Linked DNA regions of Homo sapiens: region 2 is linked to region 1. Evidence: promoter capture Hi-C in 16 types of primary human blood cells and fetal thymus (Javierre and others, 2016). All regions are on one chromosome and are shown on one strand. Each heading gives the region's core, a stretch centred on a gene start or on the middle of the fragment in contact. The rest is flanking DNA. Distances are from core to core; before and after follow the strand shown.

Region 1 (5,622 bases), core at 1-2,500:
GGACGCGGCGGCCGCCCGGCCCACCAGCTGCGCTAGGAGCAGCAGCAACAGCGAGGGCGGCGCGGATGGGTCAGGCCGAGCCATCGCCCCCTCCCTCCCCTCGCCTCCAGCAGCCCGCGAGGGACGCACACAGGCAGAGGAATCCGGGCCGGGGCTTCTCCCTCCGGCGTCTCGTGTGTGGCGCCGGGGCTGGCAACCTGTTGGTTGCTTTTTCCTTTAAAGAAAACCGTCCAAAGATAAACTGCTTCGGGAAGGCGCTGCCTCCGCTGGCAGCGCTCCGCTCCTCGCCGGATAGGGCTGGGGAGAGACGGTTAGGGCTCGGATTCCAGGGAAAGGACTCTTTAAAAAAGAAGGGGGAGAAGAAAGATTGCAACCACTCCCTGTTGGAGAGGCGTCAACAGTTCGGTCCCCGCGAGCTGTCTCCAAATCTCTTAAGTTAACCCCTTTCCTTTCCTCCCCGCTCCGCCTCCTGTAACCAAACTACCGACTCCCCCACCCTCTCTTTCCAAGCTGGGCCCTTCAGGCAGTGCCCGGAGACCAGAACCCTCAGCTTCCCGGAAAAGGGCACAGGAAACGGGAGAAGAACAGGGAGAAAGGGAAGGTTCTCACCTCCACGGATCCCGCCGAGAAGAGCAGACAGTCCCCAGCCAGCCTGGGTCCTCCGTCCCTGGGTCACTCCGCTGAGAAGCGCGACTCAGAGCCGGGCTGGCGCCCGGAAAGTTTAGCGACAGGCTGGGTACCCGTGGCAGCGGCACATGGCAGCAGGTGGGGGCGACTCAGAGTGGGGGGCGCCCCCAGAACAGGGGCGGCGCAGGCCGGTCACTCGCCCTCTCCTCCTCGGGAGCCCCCCGCATGATCCAGACGGAGCCGGGCAGGGGCAGGCCGTGCGTTCTCCCCGGGGCCGGGAGCCGGACGGAGGGCGAGCGCGCCTGGCAGCACCTGGGCGGGAGGAAGGCGGGAGGCGGGGGCCGTGGGACCCCGCCGCCTCACAGCACCGCGAGCAGCCGGCGCTGGCCAGGCCGGGACTGCATGGTGAGCGCCGGCCGCCGCGTCCCGCCCGCCGCTCGCCTCCTCCCCTGCAGGGGGCTCCGCGCTCCAGTGGACTCCTGGGGGCGGTGGCGACGCTCTCGGGACGTGCCCTGCTCGGCTCCTCCCCCGCGCTCTCGCACCCTTTCGCCCACCTCTGGCGAGCACGGAACCGCGCGCGGCGGCGACCACAGCGGACTCACGGCCGCAGGCTGGCTGCCCTCTCCCGCCCCGCCCGGGTCACCTGCTTCTAATGCCCGCCGGGAAGCCCCGCCCCGGCTCCGCCCCCTCAGGCCCGGGCGCGGTTGGTGGGCCGCCTCGCCAAGCTCTCCGCGCGTCCCCGCCCACTGCCCCGCGGGCTCGGCCTTTCCCCCGGCGCCCTCTGGCCCCGCCAGGAGCGGGCAGCCAAGGAGCGCTGACCAATCGCGGGCCTGGAGGAGATGGGGGCGGGGCGAATGCTAATCATGCCGCTCTGGGCACCCGGGCGGGAAGCCCTTGCCAGAAGTCCCTCCGGAGTTCTCTGCCCGCGCCCTGGGTGCAGGACTCGCTCCTGTAACTTCCTGGCTTATGCACCTTTGCTCCCAGGGCCCCTGCCCTTTCTGCCTGCAGCTAAGCGTCCTTACAGAGTTCAGTGCTTCTTTGAAAGAACTGCTCAAGGAATCACTCTTAGGCGTGGCTGTCTCCCTTCCGAGCTGTCTTGGAACTGTGTGAAAGAAGAGAGGATACTTACTGAGCCCTTTACTGTGTGCCCAACAAAGTGTTAATCGGTTACATCCTTTTTTTTTTTTTTTTTTTTTGAGACGAGTTGTTCTGTCTCCCAGGCTGGAGTGCAGTGGCGCGATCTCGGCTCACTGCAACCTCTGTCTCCCGGGTTCAAGCGATTATCCTGCCTCAGCCTCCTGCGTAGCTGGGATTACTGGCGCCCGCCACCACGCCCAGCTAATTTTTGTATTTTTGGTAGAGACGGGCTTTCACCATGTAAGGCTGTTCTCGAACTCCTGACACCGTGATCTGCCCGCCTCGGCCTCCCAAAATGCTGGGATTACAGGTGTGAGCCACCGCGCCCGGCCCGTTTACATCTTAAGACAAGATCTCACTCCTTACAACAATTCTGAGGCAGGTACTTCCTACAGGTGAAGAAACCGAGACTGAGACTTGGCCAAGGCAACCGAGCTAATCATAGTTCCCCCAAGAAAGGGCGACCTCGGCAAGCAAGTTCACCTCCGTATTCCGATCACCTGGCACATAGTAGCCGCCCAAATGGCAACCCTGGGATTCGAACCCAGGTAGTTGGTCAGCGGCACTCACCATCGTAGCCGCCCCTCCCCCCATACTATCGCAGCCTCCCTGGCTTCGACCTTTACTTTTGCATCTCTTAACAAAATCTTGTTGTGACAAGAAAATGGATTTCTTTCTGCCTTTAGAAGACCCAGAAAGATGTGAGTCCTTTATTGGTCGAGGTTTATAATCCCAGGCAGTTCCGAAGTCGCCCGCAGAGAGAAGCGATACCGACCCAGGGTTCTGTGCTGGGCAGGGCGCCGGCCTCCCCGTGCCCTTCCGTCCCCGGCTGCCTGCTGCTAAGCCGCGCACTTGCGCGCCGCGGGGGGTCGGAGGGCGCACCGATGGCGGGGACACGGCGGCGCTCTTCAGTTGCGCAATTATGCTACAAGTTTTAAATGTCCTAAAAATGCCTCTTTTCTATGTGTTGTAATTAGATTGGAAGACTGAGGTATTTAGCATACTTGAAATACATTCACACGCCTAGGAAGAGGGTTTAAATTTTTTCCTTCTCCCCAAACTTTTCCTTCCACTGGGCAAAGGGCGAAAATAGGCAAGAGGGCCTGGGGACACTTGAAGGGATAGGGACTGGACTAACTGGACTAGATCCAGATCAACCGCGGGTTACTGTCCATCTCCTGTGCTGGATCCCATTGGCACAGGTTGGAAGAATAAATTGCGGAAGTGCCACTCCCCTCCTGCGTATCAACAACGCTTTGTGGGCAATAATGAAGAACACGTGTGTTAATCCCAGCCTCCAAGTTAAAAAGGAACAAATATCAATCACTTCGCGGATATCAAAACTATTAATAAACGTTTAAAAGGCCGGGCGCCATAGCTCACGCCTGTAATCCTAACACTTTGGGAGGCTGAGGTGGGAGGATGGCTTGAACCCAGGAGTTTGCAGACCAGCCTGAGCAACATAGCAAGACCCCCAACTCTAAAATACATAATTAAATAAATGAATAAATATACCTTACATCTTTCTTTCTCTGGAATTCTACAGGTGTTCATATTTTATCTCTTGTGTTTTGGAATTACTTGCCACTCTGGGTCAGGAAGCATCCCAGGGTTGAAAATAGTGGGAGTTGAAAAGCTGTGGGCATAGCAGTGAGCAAGAAAGGGAAGCCCTCAGTGGAAAGTATGTGCAGACTATGAACATGCCAAGGGAGGCCCATCTCATTCTGTGCTCTTTATGCAACGTGTGTATTACTGGGGATGGACAAGTGTTGGCTAATAATAAAAATTATTTGAAGTTGGAGAATGTTAATCACTCACACTGGAATTTAGCCAGAATATTTGTGTTATTTCACACGGTTCTGTCAGAGGCATTTGAACCAGAGCGACTCCATCTTGGATAGGGACTGGGTAAAATAAGGCTGAGACCTACTGGGCTGCATTCCCAGGAGGTGAAGACATTCTAAGTCAACAGGGTGAGATAGGAGGTCAGCACAAGATACAGGCCATAAAGACCTTGCTGATAAAACAGGGCGCAGTAAAGAAGCCGGCAAAAACCCAGCAAAACCAAGATGGCCAGGAGAGTGACCTCTGGTCGTCCTCACTGCTTATTGTAACTTAATTATAATACATTAGCATGCTAAAAGACACTCCCACCAATGCCAAAGCAGTTTACATTTTACAGATGCCATGGCAACCGTCAGGAAGTTACCCTGTATGGTCTAAGAGGGGGAGGAACCCTCAGTTCCGGGAATTGCCCGCCCCTTTCCCGGAAACTCATGAATAATCCACCCTTTGTTTAGCATATGATCAAGAAATAACCATAAAAATGGGCAACCGGCGGCCCATGCCGCTGCTCTGTCTATGGAGTAGCCATTCTTTATTCCTTTCCTTCTTTTTTTTTTTTTTTTTTTTTTTTTTTGACAGTCTTGCTCTGACGCCCAGGCTGGAGTGCAGTGGGGGTGCAAGCTCGTCTCACTGCAACCTCTGCCTCCTAGGTTCAAGCAATTCTTGTGCCTCAGCCTCCCAGGAAGCTGGGATTACAGGCCTACGCCACAACACCCTGCTATTTTTTGCATTTTTAGTAGAGTCGGGGTTTCGCCATGTTCACCAGGCTGGTCTGGAACTCCTGGCCTCAAGTGATCCGCCCGCCTCGGTCGGACTCTCAAGGTGCTGGATTACAAGCATGAACCACCTCGCTCGGCCCTTTCTTACCAAACTTGCTTTCACTTTACTCTATGGATTCGCCCGGAATTCTTTCTTGCATGAGATCCAAAAACCCTCTCTTGGGGTCTGAATCAGGACCCTTTTCCAGTAAAGGTTCTGAAGAAAACAATGTTATCTACTGGTTTGTAAACCTTTTCTTCATCAACAGCAAAATCTTAATTTTACTTGGAGATCTCTAATAATAATAGTGATAGCAGAGAACTTTATGGAAAGAAACTTATTTCAGCTGGGCAAGGTGGCTCATGCCAGTAATTTCAACGCTTTGGGAAGCTGAGGCAGGAAGATCACTAGGGCCCAGGAGTTCAAGACGAGCCTTGGCAATATAGTGAGACCTCATCTCTAAAAAAAAAAAAAAAAAAAAAAAAAAGGAGAGAGCAAGACATTTTATATCGTATATGTTTTTGTATTGTATTGTGTTGCTTTTTGTCTATATTTTGAAGGCACTTTAAAATATGCTGGCTGTTTAACATGTATTAGGCAGGGTGCTAGACGTCGTTTAATCCTCAGATGAAGAAACTGGTGCTATAATGACTTTGATGACTTGCTTGAAGTTATTTATTTAGTCTATGGAGTCAAAAACTTTCACACACCGTGATGATGACAGTTCAGTAACAACATACTGTAAATGAAAATTGCTAAGAGAGTAGATTTTAAGTGTTCTCACCACACAAAAATAATGAAAAATATGTAGAGGTAATGCATATGTTAATTAGCTCAATTTACCCATTCTAGAATGTATACATATGTCAGAACATCATGTGGTACATCATAAATATATACAATTGTTATTTGTCAATTAAAAAATAAAATATCTCACAATTTTCACCTGAGTCATACTTTATTACCCAACAAACTAGAAAACACTGAATTTTTTTTTTTTTTTTTTGGTTGGGGGGACAGGGTCGTGCTCTGTCACCCAGGCTAGAATGCAGTGGCACGATCTTGGCTCACTGCAACCTCTGCCTCCTTGGCTCAAGTGATCCACCTCAGCCTTCTGAGTAGCTGGGACTACAGGCATGCATCACCATGCTCAGCTAATTTTTTAAAAACTTTTTGTAGAGACCAGGTCTCACTATGTTGCTGAAGCTGGTCTTGAACTCCTGGACTCAGGCAATCCTCCCACCTCAGCTTCCA
Region 2 (5,373 bases), core at 1,686-4,185, 71 kb after region 1:
CGGTTCTTCCATTTTTTTTTTTTTTTTTTTTTTTTTTTGAGATTAAGTCTTGCTCTGTTGCCCAGGCTGGAGGGCAGTGGTGCGATCTCAGCTCACTGCAACCTCCATATCCCGGGTTCAAGCGATTCTCCTGCCTCAGCCTCCCGAGTAGCTGGGATTACAGGCACCCACCACCACGCCCGGCTAATTTTTTGTATTTTTAGTAGAGATGGGGTTTCTCCATGTTGGTCAGACTGGTCTCAACCTCCCAACATCAGGTGATCCGCCCGCCTCGGCCTCCCAAAGTGCTGGGATTACAGGCGTGAGCCACCGCGCCCGGCCTCGAGTTCTCCCATTTTTATTAAGTCAGTCAGTAAGAAAATAATAGATATAATATAATATAATAACTGGAGGTTTATCTGGTTCCAGAGCTAGTAAGCCTATTTGATTCCAGGGTTCTCATGTGAATGTGGCCCCTTTTCTATTACTAGCAACTTGGTCCTTTAAGTTAACACATGCCCAGATACCTGCTAAGACCCAAATCTGGGAAGAACAATTGGTATGTCCTGCAATGCTCTTTTTATCTACACTTTAAGCCCCAGAGTTAATTAAGGAGAGGTTTTCCCTGATGGCAGCCCACAAAGCATTTGCACTTTTAGTTTGTAAACCAAGTTCAGCTAAATACCTTTGACAAAAGCTTTACTTAAATCTTGGCTTTAAAATAGAATGTAAATAAGGGTTAATTAATTCATTTGTTAATTTTGCTACCCTACTGGGGACATTAACTCACTGCCATCTTTTGTGCAAACACTTAATCAGTGCTTCTTGCTAACTTGTGGATGGTGACTGAACTTCTCAGTTATATTCTAAGTATGTGTATAAAATTATAATAGATTTGACCTTGATGAAACAGTTTTCTTGGGATAGGGAAAATGGATATTTCTGATGCTTCTAAGTTTTTATTTTAAGGTTCATCTGGTAATTAATATAATTCTCGAGAAACAAATACCCACCTTGGTATTTAGGAAAAATCTGTTTAATATTAGACAAAGTAAAGGAACTGACGGAGGATTTAAACATTTCTACCATTTCTGGGAAAAAGCTACACTGTATTATAATTGTAGCCATAGAGAACTATAAACAAGATAAATGGTTTTCTGTAGAAATTCCTAAAGTAGTTTAAAATGCCTAAGAGCCAAAGGGGTGTTTAGAATTATCTTGCTACATCTAAGATGAAGGGAGTGAATACGAGATTATTAGGCGAATGCAGATTCAAACAAATGATCTTGGTTTATATATGAACTTCTCATGATTTACCAGTCTACCTTCTTAATGTAAAATTGAAACATTTACCTGCCAAGTTTTTGAAGTAAGCCTTTTAAAAAGAAATAATAATGTAACAGGAAGATACGCACCTAAGACTCTGAATGGGACTCACTTGTATTTAACACATGACATTTCAGTTCCTCAAAGGACTAAGACACTAAGTACAACCAAAATGAAAAAAAGGTCAAGCATGGGTACATTAGAAAATGCACATTAATGTACATGAATCTAATGTACATTAGAAAATGCACATTAATGTACATTAACCTAATGTACATTAGAAAATGCAAAAAGTCTAGAAGATAAGCCCTATCTAACTTTATGAGCAGTGTGATTAGTTGCTTATGAATAAGTTACTGGTTATTGATGTAAATTTAGGAGAAAGGCATTTAAATAAAAGACCTAAAGTGTTTTGCCATTACTTTAGATTATTCTCCTATTTGTCTCTCTAAGACAATGCTCTTCAAAGATGGTAACCATAATTTTCCAATACTCAATTTATTCTAGGCTGGTGGTGCTCAAAGTGTGGTCCCTGGACCAAATGTGATGCAGCCAAGCCAGCATCACTAGAGAATTTGTTAGAAAGGCTAATTAGTGGCCAGCACAGTGCCTCACACCTGTAATTCCAGCACTTTTGAGAGGCTGAGGCAGGATGATCCTGCCCAGGAGTTCAGGACCTGGGCAACATAGGGAGATCCCATCTCTACAAAAACAGAAAAAAATTAGCTGGGTATGGTAGTACACACCTACGGTCCCAGCTACTGGGGAGGCTGAAGTAGGAAGATTGCTTGAGACTGGGAGGTCAAGGCTGCCGTGAGCCGTGATGGTGCCACTACATTTCAGCCTGGGCAACAGAGTGAGACCCTGTCTCTAAATAAATAAATAAATAAAATAAAGGCTAATTATTGGGTCTCCCTCTAGACTTAGTGAATCATAAACTCTGGGCTGGGGCCCAGCAATCTGTGTTTTAACAAGTCCTCCTGGGAATTCTGATGAACACAGAAGTTTGAGAACTATACTTCTAAGTCAATCATTGCTAAAGACAGCAGGGCTCTTATTTTTCATATAATATATTTAAAACAAAAATATGGACTTTGCAAAACGAAAATAGGAGGTGATATTAACTAATGTGGGTTTTGTTTTTTGTTTTAGAGACAGGGTCTTGCTGTTGCCCAGGCTGGAGTGCAAGTGTGATCATAGTTCACTGCAGCCTCAAACTGCTGGACTCAAGGGATCCTCCCACCTCAGCCTCCCAAGTATTAACAGCTAGGACTACAAGTGTGTGCCACCATGACTGGCTAATTAAAAAAACCATTGTTTTTGCAGAGACAAGTTTCTGCTATGTTGCCCAGGCTGGTCTCAAACTCCTGGCCTCAATGGATCTCCTGCCTTGGCCTCCCCATGTGTTGTGATAACAGGTGTGAGCCACCATGCCCAGCCAACTAGTGTTTTTATATAGGGCTTTTCACATCTATTAATATCTTCTCATAACTAATAGGTTAAAATCTAATTTTGCTTTAATTGTAATATGGAGTTGTTCATGTAGTTTTTGGCCATTTGCATATTCTTTCAGTAAATTGGTTCATGTCCTCTGCCCATTTTCTACTGATATTTTACTAATTTTTAAATATATCTTTCATATTAAGGAAATCAATACTTCGTCATGTGTTGAAATTATTTCTCCAAGTTTCCTGTTTATGTTTATCTTTACCTATAGAATTTTAAGCATTTAACACTTTTTATGTTTTTTTTTTTTTTTTTTTTTTTGAGACAGAGTCTCTGTCACCCAGGCTGGAGTGCAGTAGTGTGATCTCGGCTCACTGCCACCTCCGCCTCCTGGGTTCAAGTGATTCTCATGCCTTAGCCTCTCAGGTGGCTGGGATTACACGTGTGTGCCACCATGCTTGGCTAATTTTTATATTTTTAATTTTTAATTTTTATATTTTAAAGACAGGGTTTCACCATGTTGGCCAGGCAGGTCTCAAACTCCTGACCTCAAGTGATCCACCTGCTTTGGCTTCCCAAAGTGCTGGGATTACAGACGCCCGGACAACTCTTTACGTATTTAAAAGCATTTTGCTTCCATGGCTTAGAAAGTCCTTTCACACTTTAATATGATAAAAATAATAGACTGGGCGCGGTGGCTCACGCCTGTAATCCCAGCCCTTTGGGAGGCCGAGGTGGGCAGATCACGAGGTCAGGGGTTCAAGACCAGCCTGACCAACATGGTGAAACCCCATCTCTACTAAAAATACAAAAATCAGCCGGGCTTGGTGATGTTCACTTGTGATCCCAGCTATTTGGGAGGCTGAGGCGCGATAATCGCTTCAACCTGGGAGGCCGAGATCACGCCATTGCACTCCAGCCCGGGTGACACAGCGAGACTCCATCTCAAAAAAAAAAAAAAAAAAAAAAAAAAAAAAAAATATATATATATATATATATATATATATTCACCACCATTTCTTTCTAGTACATTTCTAGTACTCTGTGGGCTTTATTTATTTTACATTAAAATATTTGATCCACTTAGAATTTATCTTGATGTAAGGTGTATGGGCAGCATTATTTTTCTTTTTCCAAATGGCTAATTAGTTCCCAATTCCTAATATGGAATAATACTTTTTTTGTTCCACCAATTTGCTATGCCACCTTTACCATGTATTAAATTCCCATATTACTTGGGTCTATTTCCATACTTTCTGAATCTTTTTGACTCTTGTTCTAGTGATCTTTGTATCCTTATTCCCATTATATTGTTTTACAATACATTTTTATATCTGATAGAAACAGTCTCCCTTCATGTACATAAAACTTTGAGAAGTTAAATTCTATATAATTCTATATTAAATATACTAGGGAAGTTTACTGCCCCGATCTTTATTTTTATTTTTATTTTTGAGACGGAGTCTCTCTCTGTCACCCAGGCTGGAGTCCAGTGGTGTGATCACAGCTCACTGCAAGCTCCGCCTCCCGGGTTCAGGCCATTTTCCTGCCTCAGCCTCCCCAGTAGCTGGGACTATAGGCGCACGCCACCACGCCCAGCTAATTTTTTGTATTTTTAGTAGAGACGGGGTTTCACCGTGTTAGCCAGGATGGCCTCGATCTGACCTCGTGATCCGCCTGCCTCTGCCTCCCAAAGTGCTGGGATTACAGGCATGAGCCACCGCGCCTGGCCCCCATCTTTTTATTATAGTTTTATTTATAAGGTTTATTTAAAATGAGATGCACCTGTATAATAAACACCTCAGGTAGTTAAGAACTAATCCTGGCTTTAGATATTGGACGTTCTGAACATCTCAGATGCTTTTCATTTTTATATAAGGATAAAGGCATTGTACAAGTTTGGTGGGTTAAACTAATTAGACTGATTGTTTACATGTTTATAAAATTAGCAAACATGGTTCAATTGTTTAATAATGTATAAACTTTTAATAATTAAAATTACTCTACTTTGCATGAACCAAAGATGTATTACCTTGGAAAAATACTGCAATAATGCTTTCAGCCTGATATATATTAACATTGAAGGAGGGAAGAAGGAGGGAAGGCCTGAACAGCAAAGCATGTTTTAGCAGTCCCTTTCATTCAGTGAGAACATTCGTTGGAACTTCTGTTTCCATTCTGCGTATTGGTAAATGTTGGATGGAACCGATAGTCACAATAATAAGAATAGTTCTGCTGCGTACACAAGCCATAAGCTGATATGTAAGAAGTCACTGAAAACCTTATTTTTTTCAACACCACACATACTCATAAGACAGAAATATGATAGAGAAGGCTAAATAGTAGTATTTCAGCAAAGGAATCTCTCAAAGGGAGCAACAGTCACATTGGGAGCCAATGTGAGCTTCTTAGGCGGAAGCATCGAGCTGTGCTAAGTAAGAACTAAGCTTTTTCTGTTTTATTGAGACAGGGTCTCATTCCATCACCCAGGCTGGAGTGCAGTGGTGTGATCACGGCTCACTGCAACCTCCGCCTCCTAGGCTCAAGCGATCTTCCCTCCCACCACAGCTACCAGTGTAGCTAAAGCTACGGGTGCACACCACCATAGCTGGCTCATTTTGT

The links. Contacts are between HindIII fragments. The CHiCAGO score rates a contact against its expected background, and 5 or more counts as called.
Region 2: a fragment that was not itself captured here is called in contact with the fragment with the promoter of FZD5 in region 1 in 2 of 17 cell types (M1 macrophages and M2 macrophages); the score reaches 5.7 in M1 macrophages.

The regions. Positions count from the first base shown.
Region 1 is chr2:207,768,656-207,774,277 of GRCh38, forward strand. FZD5 (frizzled class receptor 5) reads right to left here and starts at 1,251. Exons shown (of 2, transcript NM_003468.4): 1 at 610-1,251; 2 at 1-339. The coding sequence starts at 84. RefSeq lists silencers at 2-61, 472-531, 872-1,551, 3,608-4,083 and enhancers at 2,102-2,151, 2,316-3,136. The HindIII fragment of the contact is 9,976 bases long and covers 1-5,622 here.
Region 2 is chr2:207,837,751-207,843,123 of GRCh38, forward strand. All of the region lies in intron 7 of PLEKHM3 (pleckstrin homology domain containing M3), which reads right to left. Among named protein-coding and RNA genes, the nearest start is that of FZD5, 71 kb to the left of the region's middle. The HindIII fragment of the contact is 4,522 bases long and covers 675-5,196 here.